Linked DNA regions of Homo sapiens: regions 2, 3, 4 and 5 are each linked to region 1. Evidence: promoter capture Hi-C in 16 types of primary human blood cells and fetal thymus (Javierre and others, 2016). All regions are on one chromosome and are shown on one strand. The core of a region is centred on a gene start or on the middle of the fragment in contact, and the rest is flanking DNA. Distances in the headings are between cores, read along the strand shown. Region 1 holds the start of GRSF1 (G-rich RNA sequence binding factor 1). Region 2 overlaps MOB1B (MOB kinase activator 1B). Region 3 overlaps MOB1B (MOB kinase activator 1B). Region 4 overlaps MOB1B (MOB kinase activator 1B). Region 5 overlaps RUFY3 (RUN and FYVE domain containing 3).

Evidence for each region. The method cuts DNA at HindIII sites, captures the fragments that hold promoters and counts their contacts. A CHiCAGO score of 5 or more calls a contact.
Region 2: a fragment that was not itself captured here is called in contact with the fragment with the promoter of GRSF1 in region 1 in 5 of 17 cell types (fetal thymus, M2 macrophages, M0 macrophages and 2 more); the score reaches 10.1 in fetal thymus.
Region 3: a contact is called between a fragment that was not itself captured here and the fragment with the promoter of GRSF1 in region 1, in 7 of 17 cell types (M2 macrophages, total B cells, M0 macrophages and 4 more). The highest score is 8.7, in M2 macrophages.
Region 4: a fragment that was not itself captured here is called in contact with the fragment with the promoter of GRSF1 in region 1 in 4 of 17 cell types (erythroblasts, total B cells, M0 macrophages and 1 more); the score reaches 6.6 in erythroblasts.
Region 5: a contact is called between a fragment that was not itself captured here and the fragment with the promoter of GRSF1 in region 1, in 2 of 17 cell types (total B cells and naive B cells). The highest score is 8.4, in total B cells.

What each region holds. Positions count from the first base shown.
Region 1 is chr4:70,838,560-70,841,350 of GRCh38, reverse strand. GRSF1 (G-rich RNA sequence binding factor 1) reads left to right here and starts at 1,461. Exons shown (of 10, transcript NM_002092.4): 1 at 1,461-1,880. The coding sequence starts at 1,524. LOC124900710 (a long non-coding RNA gene) reads right to left here and starts at 2,359. Exons shown (of 3, transcript XR_007058131.1): 1 at 2,206-2,359. RefSeq lists silencers at 1,194-1,443, 1,504-2,053 and enhancers at 1,450-2,103, 2,104-2,758. The HindIII fragment of the contact is 9,073 bases long and covers 1-2,791 here.
Region 2 is chr4:70,964,372-70,967,162 of GRCh38, reverse strand. All of the region lies in intron 2 of MOB1B (MOB kinase activator 1B), which reads right to left. Among named protein-coding and RNA genes, the nearest start is that of DCK, 28 kb to the left of the region's middle. The HindIII fragment of the contact is 9,182 bases long and covers 1-2,791 here.
Region 3 is chr4:70,942,267-70,945,057 of GRCh38, reverse strand. The region is part of intron 1 of MOB1B (MOB kinase activator 1B); the gene reads right to left. Among named protein-coding and RNA genes, the nearest start is that of MOB1B, 41 kb to the right of the region's middle. The HindIII fragment of the contact is 2,144 bases long and covers 385-2,528 here.
Region 4 is chr4:70,919,013-70,921,803 of GRCh38, reverse strand. All of the region lies in intron 1 of MOB1B (MOB kinase activator 1B), which reads right to left. Among named protein-coding and RNA genes, the nearest start is that of MOB1B, 18 kb to the right of the region's middle. The HindIII fragment of the contact is 5,112 bases long and covers 1-2,791 here.
Region 5 is chr4:70,758,386-70,761,176 of GRCh38, reverse strand. The region is part of intron 1 of RUFY3 (RUN and FYVE domain containing 3); the gene reads right to left. Among named protein-coding and RNA genes, the nearest start is that of RUFY3, 38 kb to the right of the region's middle. The HindIII fragment of the contact is 3,550 bases long and covers 1-2,791 here.

The DNA.
Region 1 (2,791 bases), core at 212-2,711:
GGAGGGTTCACCTTTGTTATGTATTATCAGTACATAATAAATATATATGTTTTCTTTTATTTTTTTAGAGACAGGGTTTCACTCTGTCACCCAGGCTGGAGTTCAGTGGTGGCAATCATAGCTTACCACAGCCTCTACCTTCTGGGCTGAAGCAATCGGCCTCCCAAGTAGCTGGGACTACAGGCCCACGCCATCACACCCAGCTTTATTTATTTTTTGTATAGACGGGGTCTCCCTATGTTGCCCAGGCTGGTCTGGAACTCTTGGGCTCCAGTGATCCTCTCACTTCAGCCTCCCAAAGCGCTGGGATTATAGGCATGAGCCACCACGCCAGGCCTATATTTCATTTTAAAACAACGAAGTTCTCCTTCCTCACATACCTCAAATTCGGGGGGTACCAAATCTCTGATATTATCCCAACGATTTTTTTATAACCAAGGTATCACAATTCCTTTCAGAAAGGGTTCTTTAGCCACTCACACCACGGGTTTCGGTGGCACAGCGCAGGGCAGCACAGACTTGTGCTACAGCTCTCGGCCCTACCCAGAGCAGGATGGCCCTAACCTAATTTTTTTGTTTGTTTGTTTGGAGATGGCGTCTCACTCTGTCGCCCAGGCTGCAGTGCGGTGGCACGATCTTGGCTCACTGCAACCTCCGCCTCCTGGGTTCAAGCGATTCTCCTGCCTCAGCCTCCTGAGTAGCTGGGATTACGGGCACCCGTCACCACACCCGGCTAATTTTTGTGTTTTTAGTAGAGACACAGTTTCACCATGTTGGCCAGGCTGGTCTTGAACTGCTGACCTCAGGTGATCCGCCCTACCTCGGCCTACTAAAGTGCTGGGATTACAGGCGGGAGCCACCGCGTCCGACCTAATTTTTTGTATTTTAGTAGAGACGGGATTTCACCGTGTTGCCTAGGTTGGTCTCGAACTCCTGACCTCAGGCAGTCCACCCGCCTCTGCCTGCCAAAGTGCTAGGATTACAAGAATGAGTCACTACGAATGAGTCACTGCGCCAGGCCCCTAGCCTCACTTACTTTGGGCCTCAGTTTCCACCGCCTGAAAAAAGAGCAGTTCGATTGCACCCACTTCCCCGGGCCCCGCCCAAACCATGGGCAGCCCCGCCCAAACCATGGGCAGCCCCGCCCAAACCATGGGCAGCCCCGCCCAAACCATGGGCAGCCCCGCCCAAACCATGGGCAGCCCCGCCCAAACCATGGGCAGCCCCGCCCAAACCATGGGCAGCCCCGCCCAAACCATGGGCAGCCCCGCCCAAACCATGGGCAGCCCCGCCCAAACCATGGGCAGCCCCGCCCAAACCATGGGCAGCCCCGCCCAAGGGCGGAGACTGGGCGGAGCGTCGCGCTCTCCTCCACCTCCTTCCGACTCTCGGAGGCCCCCCACCCAGTGCCCGCGGCGCATGTGCCAGGCACACCCCACCCCCAACCGGCCCTGGATTCCACTTCCGTTCCACCATCGCTGCTGGAGCAGCTGCCTTCAGGCCCTGCGCCGCCTCCGGAGTCCATGGCCGGCACGCGCTGGGTACTCGGGGCGCTGCTCCGGGGCTGCGGCTGTAACTGCAGCAGCTGCCGGCGCACCGGCGCCGCCTGCCTGCCCTTCTACTCCGCCGCTGGCTCTATCCCGTCGGGCGTCTCGGGCCGCCGCCGCCTGCTGCTGCTGCTCGGGGCCGCCGCGGCCGCTGCCTCCCAGACGCGTGGCCTCCAGACCGGGCCTGTGCCTCCCGGGAGGCTGGCGGGGCCTCCCGCTGTGGCCACCTCTGCCGCGGCCGCGGCCGCCGCGTCCTACTCTGCCCTCCGTGCCTCTCTGCTGCCGCAGTCGCTGGCGGCGGCGGCCGCCGTCCCGACGCGCAGCTACAGCCAGGTACGTGGGCGCCGTGAGGGACCTGGCGCGAGATCCCTCCCGGGCCGCGTGCACGCGCCCCCGCGCCCCTCCGTCCCTCCGTGTGCGCCTCGCGGGCACGCCCGGGGATCCGCGACACTCGCCGCACACCCGCCCCCGTCCACCCTGTGCTCCTATTGGGCCCTGGAACAAGGGAAGCTCTCCCAGGCGTCGGGTCTTCTGCTTGTTTTGTTCTCGCCTCGAGTCTCTGGTCGGTTGGGCAGTGTAAGTGTGGCTGGGGTGAATGTTGAGGCCTTGTTCCCCGCCTGGCCCATGGTAGGTTTCGTGAGGCTGCTGACGCCCCCACCTCGCATCTTCTTGCTTTCCGCCGGCTGGTTGTGAAGTTGCGAGGCCCGAGCCCGCCGGAGGGTTGGGAGTTTCCGTGCAGCCCGAGCGCTAGGCCTGGGCGGCCCTCGGCGCCTCTCGGTCGGCCGCTGCTGGGAAGGTGCGCGCACACAGTTGCGTGGGCTGGCTTGTAGGGAAGGAGCCTGTCCCCATCGCGCCGTTCCCTCTCCTGTCCCCAGGGAAAGACGAGCTGTCCCGGTTTACTGAAGGTCACCTCTGCAACTCCACTCATACAGAAGGTCTTTAAGGACTGTGTGTCGCCTCGTCTGGGAAAGCAGTTTGGAGATTTAGCTGTTGGGGGGAGGGGGTGAATGGGAGGGAGCGTTGAGGGTTGAGGACACAACTTGGGGTCCCAGGAATGAATTTGCAATGTTTTCCTTTCCATTTTTTCTTTATTTTTTTAGAAAAGTCGGTGTGTAGTTAGATTGCAAATATTTTGTGCTTTGTAGATGAACCTTTCTCTTCTTGGTACGTGGCATCTGGGAAGTGTCTGCACACTTTTTAACTACCCAGCCCCTGATTCCTTAGGTCATATTTATCTTAATTCA
Region 2 (2,791 bases), core at 218-2,717, 130 kb before region 1:
GACTCCGTCTCAAAAAAAAAAAAAAAAGACTCCAGTAACATATTGGTGGTGGATATCCTTGACTCTTTCCTAAATTAAGAAAAAATTTCAACATTTACTATTATAATGTTATAGCTATTCTGCAAATAGGTATGCTTTATCAGAAGAAAGTTCTCATCTATTACTTGATAACCCTTTTATTATGGATTTTGAATTTTAGCAAATGGTTTTTCTGCATGTATTGTTGTGATACGATTTTTTTTCTCCTTGATTTTGGCTAATGCAGTGAATTACAATGACCAATTTATATTTTTTTTCTAATTTATTTTTTTTTTTGAAGTAGGATCTCACTCTATTGCCCAGGCTTGGGATGCAGTCAGAGCTCACTGCAGCCTCCAACTCCTGGGTTCAAACAATCCTCCCACCTCAATCTCCTTGAGTAATTAGGACTATAGGCATGCAACACCACACCTGGTTAACTTTTTAAATTTTTTATAAATAGTGGGACTCGGCCAGGCACAGTGGCTCATGCCTGTAATCCCAGCACTTTGGGAGGCTGACGCAGGTGGATCACCTGAGGTCAGGAGTTCGAGACCAGCCTGACCAACATGGAGAAACCCCGTCTCTACTAAAAATACAAAATTAGCCGGGCACAGTGGCGCATGCCTGTAATCCCAGCTACTCGGGAGGCTGAGGCAAGAGAACCGCTTGAACCTGGGAGGCAAAGGTTGTGGTGAGCTGAGATCATGCCATTGCACTCCAGCCTGGGCAACAAGAGCAAAACTCCGCCTCAAAAAAAAAAAAAAAAAGTGGGACTCACTATATTGCCTAGGCTGATCTGAACCCCCTGGCCTCAAGCAATCCTTCCACCTTGGCCTCCCAAAGCACTGGGATTACAGGTGTGAGCCACAACCTGAGGCCCCTCAGATGCTAAACTAACCTTTGTATTTCTGGAATAAACTCAACTTAGTCATAATGTATTATATACACTTTTAAAATGTTACTAGATTCAATTCACTAATACTTTTATTAGAATTTTTACATCTATGTTCATTTCAAAAGTTAGATGACCTAGTTCCCTTTCTTCTAATGTTCATGTAGAACTCATAAAACTAATATTTTTTCCATTCTTTGTAAGAGCCAAAGGCTGGCGTTATTTCTTCCTTGTTTCATGGAAATACTACTGTGGCAAGGTTTTTAAATAGATTACAGTTTTTTTTAAGTTATAAGATTATTCAGATTTTTTATTCTAGTGTTAACTTTGATAAGTTGAATTTTTATAAGAATTAGGTTATTTCAATTAAATTTTCAAATTTATTGGGATAAATTTATAACTTCTTCACAACATTCTCTTACAACTTTTTTTTTTTTTTTTTTTTTTTTTTTTGAGACGGAGTCTCGCTCTGTCGCCCAGGCTGGAGTGCAGTGGCGTGATCTCGGCTCGCTGCAAACTCTGCCTCCCGGGCTCACGCCATTCTCCTGCCTCAGCCTCCCAAGTAGCTGGGACTGCAGGCGCCCGCCACCACGCCCAGAGAATTTTTTGTATTTTTAGTGGAGACAGGGTTCCGCCGTGTTAGCCAGGATGCTCTCGATCTCCTGACCTCGTGATCCACCCGCCTCAGCCTCCGAAAGTGCTGGGATTACAGGCGTGAGCCACCGCGCCCGGCCTCTCTTACAACTTTTAATGCTATGTAAGATCTGGTATGTATTTACTTTTTTATCCCTGATATTGGTTATTTGTGCTTTCTAATATTATTAAATAATTAATATTTTAAATTAATATTATTTTTAAAATATTAAAATATTTTTTTCTTGATCAATCTTACCAGGAGTTATAAATTTTTAAACTTTGCAAAGAACCACTTTTTTTTTTTTTTTTTTTTTTTTGAGATGAAGTCTTGCTCTGTCATCCAGGCTGGAGTGCAGTGCTGCAATCTTGGCTCACGGCAACCTCTGCCTCCCAGGTTCAAGTGATTCTCCTGCTTCAGCCTCCCAAGCAGGTAGGATTACAAGCACCTGCCACCACACAAGGCTAATTTTTGTATTTTTAATACAGACGGGGTTCCACCATGTTGGCCAGGCTGGTCTTGAACTCCTGACCTCAAGTATCCACCTACCTCGGCCTCCCAAAGTGTTGGGATTATAGGTGTGAGCTACCACGCCGAGCCCAATTCCCTTTATTGTATGTTTCTTTTCTATTTTATTAACTTCTGTTCTTTACTGATAACCTCTTTTAACTTTTTTTTTTTTTTTGAGACGGAGTTTCACTCTTGTTGCCTAGGCTGGAGTGCAATGGTGCAATCTCAGCTCACTACAAGCTCTGCTTCCTGGGTTCAAGCAATTTTCCTGCCTCAGCCTCCCACGTAGCTGGGATACAGGCATGCCCCAACCACGCCCAGCTAATTTTTGTATTTTTAGTAGAGATGGGGTTTCGCCATGTTGGCCAGGCTGGTCCCGAACTTCTGACCTCAGGTGATCCACCCACCTTGGCCTCCCAAAGTGCTGGGATTACAGGCATGAACCACCGCACCCGGCCTCACCTCTTTTAACTTTCTTTGCATTTAATTTGCTGTTGTTTTTCCAACCTCTGGAGATGGATGCTTAGTTCATTAACTTTTAATATTTTTCCTTTTATAATATATGTATTTATGTAAGGCTCTAAATTTCCTCTAACACAGCTTTAGCTATAATATATCCCACAAGTTTCCATATATAGTATTTTCATCACCAAATTTCAGTTCAAAATATTTTCTGATTTCCATTGAGATTTACTTTTTCCAAACATATACAGATTTCTGTTTATTACTGCTTT
Region 3 (2,791 bases), core at 207-2,706, 100 kb before region 1:
CACTAAGGCAGAGGACCAGGGACATCTAGATATGAGCTCCATATGGTATTGGCACAGAAGTATGTAAAAACACTGCAATTCATATAAAACCAAGGGTGAGACAGTTTGGATATTTGTCCCCACCCAAATCTCATGTTGAATTGTAATCCCCAATGCTGGTAGGTGTTTGGATCATGGGGGTGGGTCCTTCATGGCTTGGTGATGTCTATGTGATAGTGAATGAGTTCTCGAGATCTGGTCATTTAAAAGTCTGTGGCATCTCATCCCCTACTCTCCCCCTTTCTCTCTCTCCTCTCTACTTCCTCTGTCTCATACTGTCTTGCTCCTACTTTTGCCATGTGACGTACCTGCTCTCCCTTTTGCCTTCTGCCATGATTGTAAGCTTCCTGAGGCCTCCCCAGAAGCTGATGCCACGATGCTTCCTGTACAGCCTGCAGAACCTGAGCCAATTAAACCTCTTTTCTTATAAATTACCCAGTCTCAGGTATTTCCTTATAGCAATGCAAGAACAGCCTAACAGAAGGAGCTGCCCCAAATTTGACAACAATCTTAAAATATTACAGACACTACCAATAAAACGAGTTGTCAATCTCAAACTTTTCTAAACTATCAATAATAAACACAATTTGATCAGTCATGGTAGAGAAAAAAGTACACTGTTGACATATGAAGAAGTGGTCAAAAAGTATACAGTCAAAAAAATCTAAATAAAAAAGTATTAGAGGCCGGGTGCAGCGGCTCACGCCTATAAACCCAGCACTTTGGGAGGCCAAGGCGCGAGGATCACCTGAGGTCAGGAGTTTGAGACCAGCCTGGCCAGCATGGTGAAACCCAGTCTTCACTAAAAATACAAAAATTAGCCGGGCATGGTGGCATGTGCCTATAATCCTAGCTACTCAGGAGGCTAGGGCAGGAGAATCACTTGAACCTGAAAGGTGGAGGTTGAAATGAGCCAAGATTGCAACTAGGTGACAGAGCAAGACTCCGTCTCAAAAAAAAAAAGTATTACAGATATCTAGCAGTTGCCATAAAAATGTTATTTTTCTATAGTTTGTGATGTTAACTAACCTTGTGTTATTAAAATTGTGATCTGTGTTTTTTCATTCTAAATATTCATTTTGACATCAAATTTTGTATTTATATATTTTTTCATTTTCTCAAAAAGGGAAATGTTTTGTTTTTTTTTATTTTGATTGAAAAAGATTTTCTCCAAAAATCTAGATCTCTACCCACTTGAAGGCTTATTAATGCTACTTACAGAAGGAAAATCAGAAGTTATAGCTTGATATAACTGATTCTCTAATTTACCAATATATAAACCCATTTAGGTACACGTATAGTCTTCTACTACTATATTTACCAAGCTATGAGAAGTGTGCGTTAACTCCTGTCTCTTCTATTACCATGGACAATTTAGAAGCAGGTCCCATATGTCTTATTCACTTGGGTATTTTTTCAGAAGCTACCTTCTAATGCAGTAAATGATCAATGATTGTTGATTTTTTTTAAAAAGTTACTATACCTTGAACTACTGTCTTTAGAAAAGTTTATCAAAGCTCTTTCACTATTTTATGTCAGATGATTATTCATCATTGTGGGGTAAGTGGAAAACATGATTAACTATAAGAAATGATGTGAGCTAATCTTGCTAAAGATCCAGGTGTTGAGATACTGGATGTCATCCCAGTTCTTTGCTCACCTCAAAGATCATCACAGTTATAACAGCTGTGCTGTTCAATGGGCAAAACTAGCACCAAGTGCAAAAAGCAGAACTAGTAAACTACTTGTTCCTCTTCCATAAAAGCTGAACCACCCCATTTAGCTAATGGAATCTCTAGAACTATGTGAAATGAGAATGTATGCTTATACAATATTATGTCAAAAAAACCATCAGAAATGACCCTATGGTTTTATTTTTAAAAGGTAAAGTACTTTCTAGGGTGACAGAAATGTTTCAGGTTTTAAAAGCAGTGTGGTTTACAAAAAGCATACACTCTTTTAACTATACACTTAAGTTCTGAGCACTTCATGTTTTGTAAATCATATCTCGATAAAATAAAAATAACTTAGCAATGAACTCCCCGAACCCACTGAGATATATTTCTGAGCTACATTAAAGGGAAATACTGCCACAATGCTCTTAAACATTCATATAATAATTTTTTCTTTGCTTACTTCTTTGCCTCCAGTTCTTTATTTTGAGTCTTTCATAATCCGACAATATGAACCTTCTCTCTACAGACAAAAAACACAATATTTTGCATACAGGAATTCAGGGAGGGGCTAAAACCTGTTCATAAACCCAGATACAGAAATCCTGCCCTAGTCTGTATCTTTTCCCTGAGGTTATCATAAAAACATCAGTTTCTCTTTAAATGTCTATGAGCTTCACATTTAATTTCTAATCCTATAGACATATCTTTTAGATAAAACACACATACATTCAGGATAGGTACAAGTTTTATTTCAATTAAAAACTACAGTTTAGGTTTATTCTTTTTCTATTAAACAGTGACTAGCAGAAAGCTTTAATCATATTTATAAAATAATTTATGTTAAAGTTCAAAACCATGGCATTTATGAGAAATTCAATGCATTAAATTCATTCTTAAAAAAATAAAGAAATCCATGCTAATGCCTATAAAAACTGATAAAGTGTACTAGGAAATAACTTTACTTATTAAATGGCAATTCCACTTTAATAGACCACTAGAATATTAAATATTAAATATTAAATATTTAATAGACCACTAGAATATTAAATGGCAATTCCACTTTAATAGACCACTTT
Region 4 (2,791 bases), core at 190-2,689, 80 kb before region 1:
CAGGCACGGTGGCTCACGCCTGTAATCCCAGCACTTTGGGAGGCCAAGGTGGGTGAATCATGAGGTCAGGAGTTCGAGATCAACCTGGCCAACACGGTGAAACCCCATCTCTACTAAAAATACAAAAATTAGCTGGGCATAGCGGCACATGCCTGTAATCCCAGCTACTGGGGAGCCTGAGGCAAGAGAATTGCTTGAACTGCAAGCTCACTCAGCTTGCAGTGAGCTGAGATCGCACCACTGCACTCCAGCCTGGGTGACAGAGCAATACTCCATCTCAGGAAAAGGGAAGGGGAGGGGAGGGGAGGGGAGGGGAGGGGAGAGAAGAGAAGAGAGAAGAAAAGAAAGAAAGAAATCCATCAGCAGTTTGGCAATTCTTTTTTTAATATAGTTAAGCATGAAGCTGGATTTACTGTGGAGCCAAATTTCACACACATGCCTGCATTGCTTCACATTATGTTTACTGTTTTGCATAGATAGTGCTGGCACTGGAGTACTTACTGGTCATGTGCCTAAAGTGGATTTCTTGACTGCATAGAATGTATAATAGTACTGGTAAACTAAAGGATATTAAATTGTGTATCAGGAATAAAATATTCATTATGTGAGTTTTCTGGGGCCCTAGGTAACACTGTAGCCTCCAGGGTAAATTAAATAGGAAAATTTAGGGTTGGTTTCCTGTTTGTTTTTGCTTCTAGTTTTCATTCATTTGCTGTTTATTCTCCTCTGGCTTTGCTTGTGTATGCATATATATAAAAAACCATGATATTTTTTAGTTCCTAGTGGAAGGCTTTTACTTGGTTCCGCGAATGGTTATTTTGTTTCTGATGCATTTCTAGCAAGTCATCATTTGTTCCATTTATCTGGAATTCCTAAACTACCTTTATCAGTAGAGATTAATGGAGCACACCAGCTTTTCATCCTTAAGCTAACTTTTTGGATTTTAGGCCTCCTGATACTTTAACTGTGTTGAGTATATTCTTGTAAATAGAATTTGAATCATACTTCTCTTTCTCTGCCTAATTTCCCCCAAAAATCTGTAAACTATTTGTGAGTATTCTTAATTCATGGCAATGTGTTTGTCTGCATACAGTCAAGCAGGGTCACTAGGATCACTCAGAGAGAGAGAACCCAGAAAACTGGCATGCTGGCAAAAGGGTAAGAATTTCTTACCAGTCTATATCTGGCTTCTTTCTCTGTGCAAACTAGTTAAATATAAAGTAAAAGTCACTGTTTATCTCCTCCATAAAGTTTTAAATTAATTGCTGTAATAATAAGAAGCCAGGTTCAGTGGCTCATGCCTGTAATCCTAGCACTTTAGGAGGCCGAGGCAGGCAGATCACCTGAGGTCAGGAGTACGAGACCAGCCTGGCCAACATGGTAAAACCCCATCTCTACTAAAAATACAAAAATTAGCCAGGCATGGCGGGGCACGCCTGTAATCCCAGTTACTTGGGAGGCTGAGGCAGGAGATCACATGAACCCAGGAGGCAGAGGTGCAGTGAGCGGAGAGTGAGACTGTTGAAGGAGAAGGAGAAGGAGAATGAGAAGGAGGAGGAGAGGAAGAGGAAGAGGAGGAGGAGGAAGAGGAAGAGGAGCTTAAATCAAATATTTTGTCAGAAAAGTGAAAAGTGTAATGTCTTTTATCTAGTTCATGTGACTTGAGTAATTTCTGGGAAATAAGGATAGTTTTAAAGATAATTGGTAAAATATGTCTTCAAAATGTAAATATGTGGTTACATATTATGTTATGTATAATTATGTATAACATAATATGTAATTAAATTATGTTCAAATATTTGCTTTAGGGTCATAAGCTGTTTCTTTGGCTTTTGAAAATTGTTTAACTTGCCTGCTTTCCAGCTAGGTAAGGCCTGGGGACATGTGGAGTCATGACTATACATCAAACCTTATTGAACATAACTCACCAGGTTTTACATCAAAATTAAAATTTCTAAGAGTTGCCATTATAACATGCAATTAAGACTACTAGAAACAGTTTTACAGCTGGGTGTGGTGGCTCACGCCTGTAATCCCAACACTGTGGGAGGCCGAGGCGGGCTGATCACCTGAGGTCAGGAGTTCCAGACCAGCCTGGCCAACATGGGGAAACCCTGTCTCTACTAAAACTACAAAAATTAGCCTGGCATGGTGGTGCGCGCCTGTAGTCCTGGCTACCTGGGAGCCTGAGGGAGGAGAGTCACTTGAACCCGGGAGGCAGAGGTTGCAGTGAGCCGAGATAGCGCCACTGCACTCCAGCCTGGGCAACAGAGCAAGACTCCATCTCAAAACAACAACAAAAAAAGAAACAGTCTTACATACAATGTGTGTAAGAACAGTAGAATGTGAGGTTTTTTTGGTAAAAGGTTATAAAAGGTTTTTACTTCTTTAAAATTTCTGAGTCATCATTCTGGCAAAATAAATAATTTACGGGAATCTGGAATTCCAAAATCAAACTTCAGTTTCAAAATTGTCTTTTTTTTTTTTTAATTATTATTACACTTTAAGTTTTAGGGTACATGTGCACAATATGCAGGTTTGTTACTTATGTATACATGTGCCATGCTGGTGCACTGCACCCACTAACTCGTCATCTAGCATTAGGTATATCTCCTAATGCTATCCCTCCCCGCTCCCCCCACCCCACAACAGTCCCCAGAGTGTGATGTTCCCCTTCCTGTGTCCATGTGTTCTCATTGTTCAATTCCCACCTATGAGTGAGAATATGCAGTGTTTGGTTTTTTGTTCTTGCGATAGTTTACTGAGAATGATGATTTCCAATTTCATCCAT
Region 5 (2,791 bases), core at 199-2,698, 80 kb after region 1:
CCAAACACCAAATATACCAAATTTGTACTGAAAACTAAAGAAGGCCTAGAGCTCTATGATGTATTCCATTTCTTCTTAGGAAGACTAAAAATACTAATAAGGCTATGCTTCCATAATACAAATAAGCCACTTAGCAAAAAACAGACTGTTTAATGCAAATTATCCCAAGCAATTTTCTTCATACAAGGTTTTTATTTATATCTGCTTTCAAAGTTAAATGAGCAGAGTCAAATGGTCAAATTCCAAATTAATCTTCTCATTAAGTTTAAGGACTTACGGATTTGCAATTCCAACTATATAAATCTTGGTTTGTTGTTATGTTGTCTGAGGTTACTTTTGGAGAAACACTTTATGTGAGAGTCAGAATTGGTATATATCACCATTAATTCTTTCTTGCATAACAACAAATGTTTTAGGGCCATAGTTTAAATGTGGCCATAGCTTAAATGTAGATCAACTTGTCAAGGGTAGTATTCTCACAAGAGGACAGCAAAATACATGGAAAACTATGCCCTGAAAGACAGCCATGAAGAAAACTATCAGATATTAATTTCCATTTATTACCAGCATGTATGTACATTCTAGTGTTTCTGACCTCCTATAATTACTCAAAAAAAAAAAATAGAGCTGGGGTGTGGGTATGAATATGTGTAGAGGGCTACTAGCCTTCCCACCTGACACCTCCCAATAGATGGCAGGAGACTATGGTTGGTACTAGATAACTGCCTGCCCATAACTTTGAGGCATTCACTCTGCCTCAAGCCTGTAGACCATTAATTCAGGAACTTATAACAAGATTAAACAATGCTGCTAGTCAAAGTTTACAAGCTGATTCCAACGTAGTGAGAACTAGTCATGTGGTGAGAGATAGACTTGGGTTAAGTAAAAAATATCATATTGAGACATTTTTCCAGAAGTAGTGATAGATTTATACCAACCCATCTACATTTTCTCATCTTGTTCTTCTTATAATCTGCAGCAGAAATGTTTAAGACATCTGGCTGAGGTCTGGAGTGCATGAACTACAGACAGGTTAACTAGCGTCTATGGGAATTAAATTTCTGATATCATGGACTCCATTAGTAAGGTGCTACAATCTATTTAAACTAACTTCCATCAAACATAAACAACCTACCCATTCTTTAAAAAACACTACTCTCAACCTTGGCACTGTTGACATTTTAAGCTAGATAATTCATTTTTATGGGGCTCTGTTCTGAAAACTAATTTTCACAGCAACCCAGTAGTGGGTAACACTAGATGTCAGTAGCACTGACAACTGTTTTTGGTGGGTTAAGACAACCAAAAATGTCTCCAGACACTGCCAAATATTCTTTGGGAGATTAAATCAGGTCCTTCCACATTGAGAACTACTAATCTAAACAAATGAAAGTGAAACAAAAATCTGTTATAGTAATTTGATTGTTAGAGATAAGAGCTTAAAAGTAACAATTCACTCAGAATGGCTATTACTAACAAGACAAAAAATAAAAAATGCTGGTGTGGATGCAGAAAAAAGGGAATTCTTATACACTGTTGGTGGGAATGTCAATTAGTATAGCCTTTATGGAAAACTGTACGGAGGTTCCTCAAAAAACTAAAAGTAGAACTACCATATGATTCAGCAATCCCACTACCAGATATTTATCCAAAGGAAAGGAAATCGATATAACAAAGAGATAGCTGCATTCCCATGTTTAATTCAGCACTATTCACAATAACCAAGATATGAAATCAACCTAAGTGTCATCAACATGAATAAAGAAATGTGGTATACACACACACACACACACACACACACACATACACACACACACACAAATTCAGCCATAAAAAGAATGAAATCCTATGATTCATGGCAACATGGATGAGCCTAAAGGACATTATGTTAAGTGAAATAAGTCTGGGACAGAAAGATAAATACCACATGTTCTCACTCATATGTGGAAGCTAAAAAAGTTGAGCTCATAGAAGTAGAGAGTAGAATTGTGATTATTAGAAAATGAAAAGAGTATGGAGGAGGGGAAGATAGGGAGAGGTTGGTTAACAGATGCAAAGCTACAACTAGATAAGATGAGTAAGTTCTAGTGTTCTGTAGCATTGTATGGTGACTATAGTCAATAATTTTCTTTTTTTTTTTTGAGACAGAGTCTTGCTGTCGCCCAGGCTGGAGTGCAGTGGCACGATCTCGGCTCACTGCAAGCTCCGCCTCCCGGGTTCATGTCATTCTCCTGCCTCGGCCTCCCGAGTAGCTGGGACTACAGGCACCCACACCACGCTGGGCTAATTTTTTGTATTTTTAGTAGAGATGGGGTTCCACTGTGTTAACCAGGATGGTCTTGATCTCCTGACCTCGTGATCTACCTGCCTCGGCCTCCCACAAGTGCTGGGATTACAGGTGTGAGCCACCACGCCTGGCAATAATTTTTTTTTTTTTATATTTTCAAATAGCTAGAAGAGAGGATTTTGAATATTCCCAAAATTAATAAATAAGTGTTTGAGGCAAGAGATATGCTAATTACCCTGATTTGATCATTACATTGTATACATGAGCCAAAATGTCAGTCTGTATCCCTAAATATGTATAATTATTACACATCAAAAATTTTAAAAAGAATATATTGCTCATTGTAAATGAACACAAAAGCTAAAATGAGTATTATTTAATTCTTATTATTAACATTTTTGTGCTGAATAGTATACAAAAGTATGGCTATTTAGTCTTGCTATGTTGCTCAAACTGGTCTTGAACTCCTGGCCTCAAGCCATCCTCCCATGTTGGCCTCCCGAA